Regions from separate parts of the Homo sapiens genome. Here regions 2, 3 and 4 are each linked to region 1. The links are contacts of gene promoters, found by promoter capture Hi-C in human tissues and cell types (Jung and others, 2019). All regions are on one chromosome and are shown on one strand. The core of a region is centred on a gene start or on the middle of the fragment in contact, and the rest is flanking DNA. Distances in the headings are between cores, read along the strand shown. Region 1 holds the start of MN1 (MN1 proto-oncogene, transcriptional regulator). Region 2 has its middle 25 kb from the start of LINC02554. Region 3 has its middle 21 kb from the start of LINC01638. Region 4 has its middle 2.4 kb from the start of LINC01638.

Region 1 (2,700 bases), core at 30-2,529:
AGAAAGTTCTTTTTTCGCCCTTCTCCTAAGAATGCGAATCTGCTAGCAAAATCGCCTCGTGCTATTTTATGGCAAGGAAAATTAAAGGCCTTCTCCCCCCTCCTTCCCTACACACACTTTAGGGAGGAACACACACACACACACACACGCATGCACAAACACACGCACGCAGGCGCGAGCACACGCACACAGGCGCACAGAATAAACACCTCTATCCTCCATCACCTCTAACTTCCAACTTCTAATTGCAAGATAGATTTCAGCCTCTGTGGGGATCAGGACGATCTAAACATTTTAACTAAGATTATTGGGATAAATATTTCATAAAGAGCAGGGCAGATATTAAATTACTCCTATTGATTTTAGTATCACAGCCCAATTCCATTCCTCGGCCTCTTCAGTTTAATTGATCTCTTAAGGAGGCCAACTTCGCACCCGCAGAGGGTCTGGGTCTTGGACCGGGTGGCCCAGGGCAAGGTGTGCGGCCCGGCGGGTGCGCCCTCTTCGTGCGTGTCTTCTCGGGGTTCCCAGCCGCCTCGCAAGTCGCTCCGGTTACTGGGCTCAACCGATGTGCTCCCCCATAAAGTGGCTGAGTGACTGTGACTCCTTGGAGCCCACGCCGGCCGGTGAGAACCGGGAACCCCAGGCAGTGGGGAAGGGGAACAATTGTGAACGCCCTAGTGACGGAGGAGTGAGCAAGCGCCCAGGTCTCTCGAGGAGAACCCTAACTTCGAGGTTCCCCGTCTGCTTTACCCTCCAAGAAAATCCCAGGGCCGGCTAACTTGGGCGCCGCTAGCGGAGAACGGAGTGTTCACCCCGGAGCCGAAGTGCAGTAGACACTTAGCGACTTTCCGTGGCGAGTCTAGGGTCTTTGCCTGGCGACCTCATTGTCTGAGCGCCCCGTACCGCTCACCGCCCACCTCCCCGCCCCCTGCCCACCCGGTGGGTCTCGCTCCAGTTGGGGGTGGGGAGTTGGGAACAGTGTGAATGGGAAGGGGGTGAACAAAGCCAAGCTCCCGCCATTCTCCTCCGCCTGCACCCTCTCCAGCTCGATGCGCCCGGAGGCCGGGGCGCGCCCCCAGCGCACTGACGCCGGACCCCGAGGAGAGGCGGGCGCAGGGGACCCCAGAGCTGGGGTAGTGCGGGTTCGTGGCGGGGGCTTCGGCAGCCAGGACCCCGGACCACCTTAAGAGCGAGCCCCGCCCCGAGCCCGGAACTTGGGCGGCGCTGATTGGTGCAAATGTAATGGCTGAAATTGATTGCTGAAATGCAAAACTTGTTGCTGCTTCTCCCGGCGCTGGGCGAGAGGCAGACACAGAGAGGGGAGCCGAGACCCTCGGAACGCCCCACGCAGAGCCCCCCCGCTAGTCGGGAGAGGGGTGCGCAGACCCCCCAGAGCTGCCCCCGCGCCCCCCTCCCCCCATTCCGGGCTCTGAGAGCGCAGCGGGAACGCCTTAGCCTGCTCGCCCGGCGTGGCCCCCCGACCCGCGTACGCCCCCCTCCCTCAGGTCCGAGAGGGACTCGCGAAGCACCTCAGCGCGGAGGCAGGGAACCGGAGCCTTGGAGCGACCCAACCCCTCGTCTCGCTGCCCTCCCGCGCCTGCAACGGTGCGCGGAGACTCCGGCGAACTCAGACACCCAACGGCGGAGAACAGAAGCGGCAGGCGGCGGACGTGGCCGCGAAGCTGCGCGCCGAACGCAGCGCACCCGCTGCCGAGCAGAGGAGCCGCGCCTTTCCCCGACCCTCGGCTCCAGCCCCCGGCGCCTGCCGCCTCGCAGCCCCTCTGCGTCCTCGGCTCGGGGGCCGGCACCGGCGATGCCGAGCGGAGCCTCCAGTCCTCCGACCCGCTGAAGAAGCAGCAGCCGCTCGCCCGGAGCCTACGGGGATTGTGCGAGCGGATCGTGCTCGGTGGAGGCTCGGGCTGCGGGGCGCGGGGACTCCGGGGGGCGGGGGGAGGGACCGCTCTGTCGGTGCCCGGCGCCAGCCGCGGCTTTGAAGGGTCTCCCTCCCCTGCCCTTAGCAGCTCTGCCACGGACTCCGGGAGGCTGCGGGCGGCGTCCTGAGGGCTCCCCAGCAGACCCAATCGGACTTGAGAAGGTGATCGCTCTGCTCTCCCAACCCCCTTCCCTCCCCATTCCCCCCACTTAACTTTTTGTCTCCGTTCATCCGCGGCTTCGTCCCCTCCCCGCAGACCCACCCGCGGCTGTGACAACCGCCCGGGGCATGGGCCCCCCAACACGGCTCCTAGAGGCCCCGCGGCCTCGCAAGATGTGAGAGGCCCTCCCCGGGCAGAATCGGAGCTTCAGGAGAGGAGCTAATACCCCGCCCCCCGTCCCTCACATCAGGCGGGGTGGAGGTGCGCGCTGAGCCCCCGCGGTGCTGAGCGTCCCGGAGCGCCCAATCCTGGGCTGGAACGAGTAGCTGGCCGGAGGCGCGCCGCGGAGAGCCGGCTGTCATGCCCTATTGATCCCCCTCTGCCCCCCGCCAAGTATGTTTGGGCTGGACCAATTCGAGCCCCAGGTCAACAGCAGGAACGCTGGCCAGGGCGAGAGGAACTTTAACGAGACCGGACTGAGCATGAACACCCACTTTAAGGCCCCGGCTTTCCACACTGGGGGGCCCCCTGGCCCTGTGGATCCTGCTATGAGCGCGCTGGGCGAACCCCCGATCTTGGGCATGAACATGGAGCCCTACGGCTT
Region 2 (2,700 bases), core at 22-2,521, 520 kb after region 1:
TAGACAAGGATTATCTCTTTTATCTTCCCTCTTCTTTGTTTTTTTTTCCCCTCCAAACCCAGAAATTCCATGAGAAATATTTTTAAGAGTGTTAACTGACAAATGTACACATGCCGTCCGCAGCCAGAGAGCAAGCAGCACAGTCGCTAACTTGTTAGACAGGAGCTAGATTACAATCATAAATAAATGATTTGCTGTCTCCTCGCATTCAGACTTGTAGCTTTTAAAGTGTGCCTGTCATCGCAGAATCAGATTTAGTCAAATGCTGTGTAACTGCAAAATTATCCTATCCTTACCTTTTTATTCTCCTTATAATGGACAGTTAAATTGGATTTTCAAATTTGAAGTGCATATGTTTTTCAAATCCCCAGAGGCTGTCTATTTTTTCATTTCTAAAGCAACTCACTAATGTTTATCATTACCACACAGAAATATTACAATTCTTAAGGGGCGCCTTACAAAATCAGTGCAGGAGAAATGTGCTTTATCGTCTCAAAATGAAACCAATTTCTCAGCTGATTTGCAATTTATTTACATGTTAGCATTTGATTTCCGGCTGATTTATAACCCCACACAGCTCTGTCTCAGGGTTTATTTAGAAAGCAGACAACAGTGGTCGGGGAAGGCTGTGGAGCGCAGCGTGGCATGGGATGTCTGTTTCCCCAGGCTGGAGGCCACAGTGCCACTCCCAAGTCTCCTGGTTGAGTTTCACCTTCAGCGAATCCAGTGCCCCATTGTGTGTGAATATGCAGGATGCTAGGCCCAGCCACTGCGTGGAGATCAGATGCTGAAGGACAGCTTTTCAGAAGGAATATTTTTGCTCCTCTGCAGTGAACGGGGATTGTGGTAGGGGAAGTGGAAAAGACGCCTGGGATATACTGGGCTTTCATTCTTTGGCTCATTCACATAACTCTAATGGCTAATGTGACATCTGAATTCAGGAAGTATTGGAATTGACAGTGAGGACTTTATTGGGGTTTATTGCTTCATCTGTCTGACCATTTATTCATTGATCCACTCTTCCAGACATCTCTCTAGCCATTCCTCCATTTATCCGTCCATGTGCCCATTCATTTTCCCATCTACCTACCAATCTATCCACTTATCCATCATCCATTCATCCATTCATCTACTGACCCACTTATCCATCCATCCATTTGCCCATCCACTTATCCACCTGTCAATCCATCCACATACCCATCATTCATCTATCCATCTGTCCATTTTCCCATTCACTTACCCATCCACCAACCTATCCACTTATTCATCATTCATTCGCCTATCCATATATCCATTCATCCATTCACCCACTGACCAGTTCATCCACCCATCCATCCAACCATCCACCCACCCACCCACCTATCCACCCATCTGACTACAAATCCATCCAACCATCCATTCCACACTTATCAATATAGGCCTTTGCACTGAGTACTAGGGAATTAGAGATGACCAAGAAACTGCTCACAAAACTCTTGGATAAGAGGAGGAGACAAACATACACCTGCCAGGATCATTGTGAAGCTCAAATTACTTAATGCATATAAAAAGTGCTTCACAAACTATAAATCTCTTAAAAATATAACATATATGTAAATGCCGTAATGAGTTTAGAGCAGCCTGCTTCCTTCTATCTAGCTGTGGAACCACAGGTAAACAACTTCCTCTTCCGAAGCCTTGGTTTCCTCATCTATAAAATGGGAAGGGAGGTAATAATTAATAATAATAATTAATAATAATACTAATACCCCTGGCAGGGGCCTTGGCAGAATCTGATGAGATAACCCATATAGAGCACTTAGCCTAGTGTCAGGCCATAGTTAGCACCTGATACACTTTCTTCTTCTTACTATTCTGATTGTTGCATGAATAATAGGGACAAAGGAGGAAGAGAAATTCTGTCAAACTGAAAAGATGAGGAAAGATGTTACCAAAGAAACAATATCTGAGCTGGGTTTATAGAAGAGGGAAGCTTTCCTCAGGTACCAGAAGGGAAGAGCATGGCCAGCAGAGAGAGCAGCTTGCACAGAAGTCTGAAGGTGCAACTGAGGATTCAACAAAAGGTGAGGGAGATGTGGCAGGAGCATGGGACCCATGGGCACAAGGAGAGAAGGTACGTGTGTTGAAGTAGATCTCAAAGGCCTTGCATTTTAGGATATTGAACTTGGGTTTTCTTTTCCCCCCCCTGGGGATGACAGGAAGCCAATGGAAGGCCTTCATCAAGGACATGGCCCCATCCAATTGGCACCTCAGGGGGCTCCATCCTGCAGACAACAAAGGTGGAGGCAGGGAGCCTGGACGGGAGCTGGAGAAACAGCTCCTTGGAGAGCAAAGGAGGCAGGAGACAGTGCGCTGGTGCAGGGCTGGTGAGAAGGGGCAGATTTGAGAGATGAGTTTTTAAGCAGAATCAGCCAGGATGTGGGGACCAATTGGAGAGAAGAAGGGGGGATAATGAAGGTTTCACCGAGATCTCCAGGAGAACCCTATCAGAGGCAAAATCCCTGAGACGGAGATGAATTTTCCTCCTCACTTTGCCTCTATCTGCCCATGCCATGCAGCGCTTCTCTGAATACATTTGCATATATTTATGCTGCAGGCAGCCAGCGCTAAAAGGAGCATCTCCCTCTCTCTCTTTTTCTCTCTCTGAATGTGAGCTCACATCCAGCACGATTCCCCTTCTGCGCAGAGTCAGGAGCCAGG
Region 3 (2,700 bases), core at 43-2,542, 600 kb after region 1:
TCAGCGTATTAGCACCTCAGATAAAATAAGGGGCCTGTCGCTATGGAGAAAGGGAAGAATGGACTTGGGATAGGAGAGTACCAGTGGCTGCCACACTCTATTTTTGTTTTCTAACTTGTATAATTCCAAGCAAAGAATGCCTTTTGAAATGGGGTATTGGTCAAAACGGTATGTGGAATGGGAAACTTTAGCCTGTTAGCTCTGGATAATCAGACCTCAGTTAAATCAGATTTCACTTAATCTACTGAACTTAACGAGGCATCACATGAGTACACAAGAAGGTAGTCTGCTTTGCATAAGCCAGATTTTTGAAATCACCATTAAATGAGCATCTATTACAATTACTGAAGGCATCAGAAAGAGAGAAAGGTTTTCACTGCATATTGCCTGCCTCCCTCATTGCCAGTGAGTGATTGCCCATTGGCCTGTGAAGGGCTGGAGTCTAGTGTCCACTCACGTGTGAGTCTGGCACTGATGCAGTGGGCTGGACCTTGCGGAGGCCACTGTGCTTTCATCTGCTACGTGATGAGGCAGCTCTTCCATCACATACTACTCTTAGAACACCAGCAGAATCTTCATTGGAACCACGCTGTGAGATCCTTTGGATTTTACTCAATAATCTCACAACTGCGAAAGCAAATATCAACTCAGGCACTGAAGTCACATGGAAGCCCTTTGTTCTAAGATGATCTCCCAGGTTAGAAGGCAATTAGAACCCTTTTCCGGGTTATGGTAGAAATGAGAAAACCAAAGCAAGTAGACAAGTGAATACATTGGGGTGTGTTCGTGGGTCCAAGTTTGAGACATGATGGCTTCTGCCACCAGGTAGATGGTTTTCAAAGGGCATCTATGTCCATGAGTCTGTGTGATTCCCTTACAGGAGCCCTGGAAGCAGATGGAAGGGTTATTTCAATTGAGAGGTGAAGGACTTGTCCGTCAGAGAGGACAAGCTACCTGGTGAAGGTCCCACAATTTATGAAGGTCTGAGCTGAGAGTCACCCTTGCTCTGTCCTGGAGCTGTGTAGGGCTGGGCTCTGAAGCCTTCTGCAATATTGCAGCTGAGGCCCCCAAAGTGGCGCCACCATTCCTGTGGCCCCCAGAAGCAGAGGAGACACCCTAGGCTCCTAAGACCCAAAAGCATCTTAGAGAAGATCTAGATCCAACTACCCATTACACAGATGTGGGAAGTGAGCCACTGGTGGGTGAGAAGCCAGTGAGTCAGTAAGACAGCAACAAAGATGGGGGCTGTTTCCAAAGGCCAAGTCCATGGCAGAAACCCAGCAGTTTCAGGGCACGCAGGGCCACAGCAAAATCCTATTCAAGGATTTGCTGCTGCAATGAAAATGCTTATTATTGCCGTCACTACTACTAGCAGTTCATGCCTAGTAGAGTCAGCTCTCAATAACTATCTCTGGCTCCTCCTCACTCTTGTTATTCAGCAGACTTATTAGCACAGTGCCTGGCCCTATTATTATTATTATTATTGTTCACCAGCTACTCTGGCTCCAAGAAGTGCTCCAAAAATAAATTGATTGAATGAATGAATGAGTGATTCTAGCAGAGTTCCCAGAGCGCCTACTCTGCCCCGCTTGGCCCGGCCGCCTCCCCACACCAGATCACTGTCTGCCTCCTTGTGATATGAAGCTGCCTTTCCCATCACCAGCACGAACTGGACTCCTAATCCACTGTTCTTTGGTTTAAGAGTCATTACAAAGTGCTTAATTAAGTAAGCCTCGCTTAATCACCAAATGTTTGCATGCGAAACAAGTTCCCGGGAAGCAGGGCACTTGACATGTTCTGCACAGAAATAATTACGCCGAGGAGGGGGAGGGCCGCGGGCTGGGACTGGGAGCCTCCACATTTCATTTGAGGGCCTCACCCATTCATCACCGAAGGGGAATTAAAAGGCTTTAGCTGGAGCAATTCGAGAACTCCCACATTCCTGCTGGATGAATCACGGGAGTGGGGCCGCTGTCTGGGTTTCCAAAGGCGCAGAGCAAGGGGAGAGGTGGGAATTCGAGAGGCGAGTTGGGGGCTGGTGGGGCCCCGGGGAGGGGTGCTCTCGGGGACACAGGGGAGCTCTGCCTCCCCACAGCCCATGTGATAACAATCCCTCCCTGGCTCAGTCTTTGGCCTGCGTGTTCCAAGTGCTGCCTTAGATAGTTTCAATTGCCCTCTCTCTCTTATTTCAGGAGGAGGTTTGCAAATTGTATATGAATTTGCAGAATACATTGGTGGTGGCGGCGGTGGTGGTGGTGGTGGTTAGTGGAGTGTGTGTGTGTGTGTGTGTGTGTGTGTGTGTGTGTTTGTAGGCTATCATTTAATTTCTTCCTAATCCTGTACTTCCCACAGAGCACTGGATTAGTTGGTACAAGAATGAACTTACCTTTCTTATCTCAATGGCTTTTTGTCTATATTCATATGTATTAGAAAAAAAAAACATACAGAATCAGCACCTCATTCTCTGATTTCAAGGGTATTATCAAATCAAAGTTGGTATAAAGGAAAAAAAATAAATCTTCCAAGGTAGAACAAGGATGTGAACTAAATCAGGAAGGAGGGCCACACTGAGGTTTGGGACACTGTCCCTTAGCACTTCACGTTTCCCACGGTACTTGTCCCAGCAGGACCTCATGTCTCTGGATTGTCAAAGGCTCTTATCATGCCCATTTTGCAGATTAAGAAACAGAGGTCCAGGAA
Region 4 (2,700 bases), core at 82-2,581, 570 kb after region 1:
AGTATGGGAAAAACCTTTCTACTTATGATTCAAAACATAATGTAATAAAAAAGACTGATAAATCTGAATGCATAACCATTTTGTAACAAACATCGAAAGTGAAGTCAAAAGAGAAGCTGGAAGAAAACATTTTTAATCTATGTCACAGATAAGTAGTTGATGTCCTTAATACATAAAGAGTTCTTAAAAATCAAGAATAAAGACCAAAAACTCAGTTTTTAAAAATAAGGAAAAAACGTGATTAGATGGTTCACAGAAAGAGATGTATAAATGGACCTCAAAATGTGAAAAGGTGTTCAACTCCATGCACAAGAGAAATGCAAATTAAAGCTACCCAAACATAGTATTTCTTACCTCTTAGACTGACAAAAGGTGAAAGCTTGACCACATACTCTGTTGGAACATGGCGACAATGTAGGGAAACAGATTATCTCATACATTGCTGGTGGAAATGCAAATGGGGTATTTGAAAATATCTAACAATATCACATATGTGTTTACCTTTTAGCCCTTCAATCCTACATTTTGGAATTTACCTAAAAATATACTTCTGCAAGCCCAGAACAACAAATGCATGTGGTTATTCATTATATCATTTGTAGTAGCAAAATATTAGAAACAACCTAAATGCCTACTCATAGGAGACCAGTTGAACAAACTGTGAATCTTCTGGATAATGAAGTACTAAGCAGCTACAAAAAAATTGAGGATAACTGTTACGAATGAAAATGATTTCTAAATCTTTTTTTGCTTTAAATGAAAAAGCAAAGTGCAAGCGAGTACCTATGGTATGTTCTCTTTTATCTAAAAAATATGGAAAGCTAAAAATACATGAATATAGAGTCATAGAAGTAAAAACTGGCAGGATTCACTTATGGGTAAAAGTGACTATAGAGAGTAATTGGGGGCAGGGTGTGGTGGCTCACGCCTGTAATGCCAGCACTTTGGGAGGCCGAGACGGGTGGATCACAAGGTCAGGAGATCAAGACCATCCTGGCTAACACAATGAAACTCCATATCTACTAAAAATACAAAAAATTAGCCGGGCATGGTGGCGGGCGCCTGTAGTCCCAGCTACTCAGGAGGCTGAGGCAGGAGAAGGATGGCATGAACTGGGGAGGCGGAACTTGCAGTGAGCCGAGATCACGCCACTGCACTCCAGCCTGGGTGACAGAGCGAGACTCCGTCTCAAAAAAATAAGTAAATAAATAAATTAAAATTAAAATTTAAAAATTTAAAAAAGAAGGTAATTGGGAATGGGGTGACAGCATGGAGATAAGAATGAGACTGCTCTTGGGACTTCTTTGTCTATAATTTATACTCTTGAATCATATAAATATTTTACAGATTCAAAGATGAAATTTAATCAAAGATGTTGAAAAAGACACCAAACCCTAAAATTGAAGGCAAATAGAAACAAACAAGCCTAACTACACATCACGTTGATAACTCTGCTAGGCAGGCTTCTAAAGTGGCCCCCATTGATGCTCACTTCCGGATACTCCAGCATTTTGTTTAATCCTTTTCCCTTGAACGTTGGCTGGACCTGGTGACTCACTTCTAATGAATGAAATATGGAAAAAGTAATGAGATGTTACTCCTGACAATTAGGTTCCAAAGGGGTGTGACTTCTATCTTGTTGGTATTCTGTCTCCCTGGTGCTTCTCATGTGCTGAGCTTGATAGAGAAGGTGACCTGGCAAGGAACTGAAGGACATCTGGCAATGTACTGAGTGAGGAACTGGGGCCCACAGTCCAGCAGTCTCCAAGGAATCAAATCCCACAACAGCCATGTGAGTGAGCATGGAAGTAGATCTTCCCCGGTCAAGCCCCCAGAAGGACCCAGCCCTGCGGACACCTTGACCGAAACCTGTGAGAGCTCCGGAAATAGAGGAACCAGGTAAGCCACACCTGGATCCAGAGAAACTGTGAGACAAGAAATGTTGTTGCTTTAAGCCACTAAGTTCTGGGGTAGTTTGTTAAGCAACAATCAATAATAATACAAATGTAACCATGTAGGAAGGGAATCAGCTCAAATAACCTTTGAACACTGTTCTCTAACTGTGCTCTCAATTAAATACACTCTAAGGACAACAAGAACTTCAAAGAAACCTTGAACTTGAATGAATAGATAGTTGTTGATAGTAGGATCAGTGTAATTCTGAAACCATTGAGCAAATATGTTGATATTGGGGGAAATGGGGTTCTCACCGTGAAATCAGAGAGATATGATATGGAATGAGGGAATTGTGAGAAAGAACTTTGTGATGTTGGATTTAATTTGGAGGCATCAGAATGAACTCAAGTGTGTCTTCTATTTACTGAAAGAAACTAGAAATAGCAATACCTTTGTAGTAACAAGCACACCTAGAACATGTATTTTGGCTTTTATTTTATTTTATTCATTTTTGAGATAGTATCTCACTCTGTCACTCAGGCTGGAGTGCAATGGCATGATCTTGGCCCACTGCAGCCTTGACCTCCTGGGCTCAAGTGATCCTCCCACTTCAACCTCCTGAGTAGCTGTGACTATAAGCATGCGCCACCATGCCTGGCTAATTTTTGTATTTTTCTTGGTGGAGATGGGGTTTTGTCATTTTGCCCAGGCTGGTCTGGAACTCCTGGGCTCAAGTGATTCTCCTGCCTTGATATCACGGCTTTTAAATACCATTTTCCATTGAAAGGGATCAGGTCATCTTGG

What was found. Contacts are between HindIII fragments. The study calls those that stand out against the background at their distance.
Region 2: a contact is called between a fragment that was not itself captured here and the fragment with the promoter of MN1 in region 1, in 4 of the 25 tissues and cell types used here (H1 embryonic stem cells, IMR-90 fibroblasts, lymphoblastoid cells and 1 more).
Region 3: a fragment that was not itself captured here is called in contact with the fragment with the promoter of MN1 in region 1 in 1 of the 25 tissues and cell types used here (mesenchymal stem cells).
Region 4: a fragment that was not itself captured here is called in contact with the fragment with the promoter of MN1 in region 1 in 1 of the 25 tissues and cell types used here (dorsolateral prefrontal cortex).

The regions. Positions count from the first base shown.
Region 1 is chr22:27,800,335-27,803,034 of GRCh38, reverse strand. It overlaps MN1 (MN1 proto-oncogene, transcriptional regulator), which reads left to right and starts at 1,279. Exons shown (of 2, transcript NM_002430.3): 1 at 1,279-2,700. The coding sequence starts at 2,492. The HindIII fragment of the contact is 23,630 bases long and covers 1-2,700 here.
Region 2 is chr22:27,284,420-27,287,119 of GRCh38, reverse strand. No RefSeq gene overlaps it. Among named protein-coding and RNA genes, the nearest start is that of LINC02554, 25 kb to the left of the region's middle. The HindIII fragment of the contact is 5,633 bases long and covers 1-2,700 here.
Region 3 is chr22:27,202,118-27,204,817 of GRCh38, reverse strand. No RefSeq gene overlaps it. Among named protein-coding and RNA genes, the nearest start is that of LINC01638, 21 kb to the left of the region's middle. The HindIII fragment of the contact is 5,933 bases long and covers 1-2,700 here.
Region 4 is chr22:27,225,728-27,228,427 of GRCh38, reverse strand. No RefSeq gene overlaps it. Among named protein-coding and RNA genes, the nearest start is that of LINC01638, 2.4 kb to the right of the region's middle. RefSeq lists an enhancer at 821-2,020. The HindIII fragment of the contact is 4,081 bases long and covers 1-2,700 here.